Regions from separate parts of the Homo sapiens genome. Here region 2 is linked to region 1. The links are contacts of gene promoters, found by promoter capture Hi-C in blood cells and fetal thymus (Javierre and others, 2016). All regions are on one chromosome and are shown on one strand. The core of a region is centred on a gene start or on the middle of the fragment in contact, and the rest is flanking DNA. Distances in the headings are between cores, read along the strand shown. Region 1 holds the start of NTNG2 (netrin G2). Region 2 overlaps MED27 (mediator complex subunit 27).

Region 1 (2,837 bases), core at 262-2,761:
TCACAAGATTCCAAATATTATTCAGCAGTATAACTCCGTCTCCAGTTTTCAGGGCAGCTGAGAACAGGGAAGGGTTAAGGTGGAGGTGAAGGGTGGCAGCAGGGCGGGGCACTGAGGTGCCATGTCTTGCTCCATTCCCAACACCCTCTGTGACCTTGGGCTGGTCTCTCTCTCTCTGCCTCTCTCTCTGTCTGTCCTCAGGCCCTTTGTTCTTGATGCATCCAAATGACAGTGCTGGCTGCTCAAGGCTGCAGTGAGCCCACCCCAGGAGGCCAGGAGTGTCCGAAAACCACATGTGCTTCTGGAAGATGTGGAAACTCTCCCAGAAGCCCTGGGAGGCAGGCTGGCAGGAAACCTCCTGGGGATCAGAGAGCCCAGGGCTGCCGGATATGATATTGTGAACTCGGTGGCCTCTGCCCGGGGCTGCTGCTACCGGAGCCCTCCCACACCTGCCTCCCATGCTTGCAGGGGAGGGAGACAGAGAACCCCTCAGCCAGGCCCCTCCTGCCCCACTACTCTGCACTCCCTGCAGAGCTGGCTTGGCTTCGTCAAAAGCAGGGCCCATCAGGGTGGAGGCGGCGATGTGTCAGCTGGTATTCAGGCTCTGGTTGTGCGCTCAGATCGCTCCCCCTCCCCATCTCCCCAAATCCACCCACCCACCCCGGTACCCACTGCTTGGGGCCTTCTGGGTGGCAGCACTTCACAGAGAGAGACCGAGGAGCAGCCCTGAGCCCTTGGCTGTGGGGGGTGGGGGAACTGACTCACTTGGCCCCCCTCCCTCGTGCCGATGGGGCAGCCCCCACACCCATGGGCGCTGGCACCCCGGCAGGCCCCCGGGTTTTGGAAGAGGAAGCTGCAGCCCGGCTGCGCCTGACCGGAGCCGGCTGAGGATGCGCTCTGGGCGCAGGGACCCGCTGGCCCCCGGGCCGGGAGGCGATGTTTAGGCAGCGACCCCCCAGAGGCTGCCGGGGCCACCCTGGCCACGGGCCCGCCGGGACGCCCCTGCTCGCCGCGCCCCTCCCCGGGCCGTGGCGCGTCCCCCGAGCCGCGCAATATTTCCTTCCTGCACCTTTAAGAAGACCGTTGCTCCGTGGTGGGATGGTGTGTTAAAGCCACACAGAGGAAGTTACGCAGCCCGGATCAGACCGAGAGATAAAAGCCCCGATGGTGATCGTGAGTGATGGCAAGAGGATTTAGCCTCGGCATTAACTTGGAGCGGAGTGCAGGGGGGCAGTGAAGCGCCCGCCATCTGGCCCGCGCCGCGCCGGGGGGATGCCCCGGCTCCCCGACGAGACGCCGCGAAGCCCACCCGGGCCGGGGGCTGCCCGGCGCCCGAGCGCGGGTCCTCCCCGGGCCGCCCAGGGGGGCCAAAAAGTTTGCACTTGTTAGCGGCGACCTCCCGCTCAGCCCGGGCGGGCGATGCGGGCGGCGCGGGCGGCCCCCTCCCCCGGCCCGCGTCTCCGGGACGGCTGCGGGCGGCCCCCCCGGCGGCCGGAGGGCTCCCTGGCCCCGATCTGACGGCGGCGGCGGCGGCGGCCACAGCGGCGGGAGCGGCGCGGGGAAGGAGCAGCGGCTCGCAGCCCTCGGCCCGCGCCCCCACCCAGCGCCAGCCCGAGGGGGGAGGCGCAGCGCCGGAGGGTGGCGGTCCTCGGCCCTCCCAGGTCTCCGCGCCGGGAAGCCGCTCCGAGCCGGGGTAAGGCGGGCGGGGAGAGCCCGGGAGGCGGGCGGGGGGAGAGGCTGCAGCTTGGCCAGGCCGGTTTCATTTTTAAAGGGCTTCGGTGACCATGCAGGCTTGCCCGGGCCCGGGAGCCACTTACAGCGGCCCGGCAAAGGCTCGGATGCAAAAGTTGTTTGGTGGCGGCTGCTACGAGCTGAGAACTGGAGTCGCCCCAGAGGGGTGTGTGAGGGTGCGTTCTTAGCAGCATCTTAAAGGGGTAGCTTGTCTTTCTGGCCAGCTTCCCCCGGGTCCTTTCCGTCGTGTGTGTGAGAGTGTGTGTGTGTGTGTGTGTGAGAGAGAGACAGAGTGTGTGTGTGTGTGTGTGTGTGTGTGTGTGTGTGTGTGTGTGTGTGTCGGGGAGGGATGTTGCAAGGATGCTCGGATGTGTCTCGGAAAAGGAAACTAACCCTGCTCCCGCGCCTCTCCCCCACCCCAATTCCACCGCCACCGCTTAGAGCCACCCCCATCCCGTGCCCTCCCATCTCTCTGCAAACTGGGAGCCTGTGAGTTGCACAGAGAAACTCCCGGCCAGTCCGGCTGGAAACTTCTCCCGGCGCCGGGAGGGGGTCGGGAGGTGAGGGGGCGCAGGCACTGGTTTGGGGCCGGCGTGGAGTCGAACCTGGAACTGAGCGGCGCGCAGGTGGGGGGAGCAGAGGCGGCGGGAAGGCGGGAAGAGAGGACCGCGGGCTCGCGGGGTCCGCCCGCTCCGGAGTAAGTTGGCCGTCTGGGCTGGGGGCGGCGGCGGCCGGGTCGCCACAGGCGGCAGCGCCGGGGCAAAGGATACAGCCAGTTCCTGGGCGCCCTGCTCTGTGTCTTTTAATTAAGAGAGGCAGTGCCGAAAAAGGGGGCGCCTCAGTCCCGGCCGGGCCTTTATTACGGGCTTAATTATTAATTGCTGCCGTGGCTTGCACGCAACTTTGGGAAGACGAAAAGCAGCTGCGGGGCTGCCGGGTCGTCGGTGTCCTAGGCACAGGGCTCGCAGCCGGCCCGAAGCACTGACTCGACCCTGGCCCCGGCCTCGACCCCGCCCGCGGCCCGCCGGGACCCACCCGGGAGCTGCTGCTCGCGCCCCGCCTCCCGCGCCCAACTTTCCAGGGCTCCCGCGGGCGGGGACCCAGGG
Region 2 (2,821 bases), core at 185-2,684, 180 kb before region 1:
TCCAAGCCTTGGTGTTCACGGCCTCAACTTGTCTTTACCCCCTTATGTCACTGTTCCCCATCCTCTGTGTTGCTCTGTCTGGGACACCTACCCTAGAGACCTACACAGCTAACTCCCTCCCCACATTTGCTCAGATGTCACCATTTCAAGGCAGTTTCCCTGACCGTTCTTTTTAAAGTCGCTGCCCACCTCCCACAGGCCCAGCTCTCCTGGCTCTTCACATCCGCCCCACTTTCCCCGATAGCACTAATCACCTCCTCACATTCTGTACATGACTTCTGATTGTTTGTCTTCCATATTCTCCACTAGAATGTAAGCACCACAAGGGCAGGAGTCTGTTCACTCAAGTGCTCAGGGCTCCTAGAACAGTGCCTGCCATTTAGCAGGCACTCAGATGACTATGAACTCAAGATCGACTTGTTTGCCAGGCACTGTTCTAGGCACTGGGGTTACAGCAGTCACCAGAACAAACAGGGTCCCTCCTTCACAGGGATTTGGGCCAAATAACAAAACAAAACACAACATAATACACCCATAAGAGAACAGCGGAACAGAGCGCTACAGAGATCTTAAAAAGGTGTATGATACAAAGTGACTGGGGAAGCTACTTTAGATTGGGTAGTCAGGGAAGGTCCCTCTGAGGAGGTGTCATTTCAGCTAAAAACTACAATAAGGAGAAAGTATTTAAATCTTCCACATGCTTCTCTGATTTTCCATCTTGCTGGTCTGCTGTGAACTCCTGAGGTGAGTCACAGTCCCTGTTTCTCCTGGCGCTTCCTGACATTTATACATTTATGCTGGTATTTTGAGCCTGGGACTGACCTGTTATGGCCTCACTGTGGACTTACATTCTGTCCTTATAAAGCTTCTCTTTGCAGCCATTTATACCATATGCCTTGAGCTCAACCTTATCTAGTATTTCTATTACAAGTCCAGTTTTCTTTTAGTTAGAAATACAGGATCTGTCTTTGTCTAACAGCTGTTTTATGTTGTACATAGCAGGGTTTAATTTTGGGGACAATCTGAGTCTTTTTCCTGTAGTAGATATTTATCTCATTGGTATTTATTGATATTGCAGGTGTGTGGCCTAATTTGGTGGTCTTATGAGACTGTTTTGTTTTATCTTCTTTTATGTCTTATTTCATGTGTCCTGCTCTGGATGCTTGCTTTGGTTCTTTGCCTTTTGCTTTGCGGACTCTAAGTCTTTACTGTTTTCTTCAAGACTCTGGCATCCCCTTTCTTTTTAGTGCTTTTTAAGAATTTTCTTTCAAATTTTACATAATACACTAAAACCTCTATTTCTTAATGTTTAGATATATCTCCTGCTCCCAAATAAGATGAGAAAATTTGTCATCCCAATCTCCTCATTCTATGTGCTTTGTGAATATTTTTGCATTCCCATGTTTTATAACACAGTCAAGTGTCGCATAACAGTGTTTTGGTGAGACCGCATATATGACAGTGGTCCCATAAGATTATAATGAAGCTGGAAAATTCCTATCACATAGTAGCCATGGTAAAGTCACAGCACAACACATTACTCATGTGTTTGTGTTTAAGCTGGTGTCAACAAACCTACTGCACTGCCTGTCACATAGAAGCACAGCCTATACAATTATGTATAGTACAGAGTGCTTGATAATGATAATAAATGACTGTTACTGGTTTATGAATTTACTGTACTATAATTTTAATTGTTTTTTTTTTTTAGCATATACTACTTCTACTTATTAAAAACAGTTGACTGTAAAACATCCTCAGGCAGGTCCTTCAGGAGGGATCCAGAAGAAGGCATTGTTATCATAGGAGATGACAGCTCTGTGTGTTACTGCCTTTGAAGACCTTCCACTGGGACAAAATGTGAAGGTGGAAGACTCTGATACAGATGATCCTGACCCTGTGTAGGCCTAGGCTAATGTGTGCATTTGTGTCTTTGGTTTTAGCAAAAAAGTTTAAAAAGTAAGAAAAAAATAAATAAAATAAAACAAAAATAAAAAATAGAAAAAAGCTTTACAGAATAAGAATATAAAGAAAATCCTTTTGTACAGTTGTACAATGTATTTGTTTTAAGGTAAACGTCATAACAAAAGAATCAAAAAGTTAACAAAATGTAAAAGTTTATAAAGTGAAAAAGTAAGGCTAATTTATTACGGAAGAAAAAATGTTCTTACAGATTTAGTGTAGCTTGAGTGTACAGTGTCTGTAAAGTCTACAGCAGTGTATAGTAATGCCCTACACCTTCACATTCACTCACCATGGCTCACTGACTCACCCAGAGCAACCTGTAGTCCTGCAAGCTCCATGCATGGTGAAGTTCCTGTCCGGGTGTACCATTTTTTATCTTTCTTTTTGGTTTGTTTGTTATAGAGGCAGGGTCTTGCTATGTCGCCCAGGCTGGTTTTGAATTCCTGGCCTCAGGTAATCTTCCCACCTCAGCCTCCCAAGTACTGGGATTACAGGCATGAGCCACTGCACACAGCTCCATTTTTTTTTACCTTTCATACAGTATTTTTACTATACATTTACTATGCTTAGGTATGTTTAGATACATAAATACTTACCATTGTCTTACACTGCCTTTAGTACTCACTATGGTACCATGCTGTAGAGGTTTGTAGCCTAGGAGTAACAGGCTACACCTTATAGCCTAGGTGTGCCGTGGGTTCTACCATTTAGGTTTTTGTAAATATATGTTTGCACAATGATGGAAGAGCCTAATGATGCATGACTGTATTTACCTTCTGAAATATTATTCCTGACAATTACTTGGCCTTGGCTGTTTATTTAAACAGACCACTCACTTCACCATTTCTCATCAGAA

Evidence for each region. The method cuts DNA at HindIII sites, captures the fragments that hold promoters and counts their contacts. A CHiCAGO score of 5 or more calls a contact.
Region 2: a fragment that was not itself captured here is called in contact with the fragment with the promoter of NTNG2 in region 1 in 1 of 17 cell types (endothelial precursors); the score reaches 5.8 in endothelial precursors.

What each region holds. Positions count from the first base shown.
Region 1 is chr9:132,160,547-132,163,383 of GRCh38, forward strand. NTNG2 (netrin G2) reads left to right here and starts at 1,512. Exons shown (of 8, transcript NM_032536.4): 1 at 1,512-1,693. It overlaps LOC124902291 (a long non-coding RNA gene), which reads right to left and starts at 1,154. Exons shown (of 2, transcript XR_007061826.1): 1 at 1,070-1,154; 2 at 1-57. The HindIII fragment of the contact is 8,295 bases long and covers 1-2,837 here.
Region 2 is chr9:131,984,001-131,986,821 of GRCh38, forward strand. All of the region lies in intron 3 of MED27 (mediator complex subunit 27), which reads right to left. Among named protein-coding and RNA genes, the nearest start is that of MED27, 94 kb to the right of the region's middle. The HindIII fragment of the contact is 1,143 bases long and covers 864-2,006 here.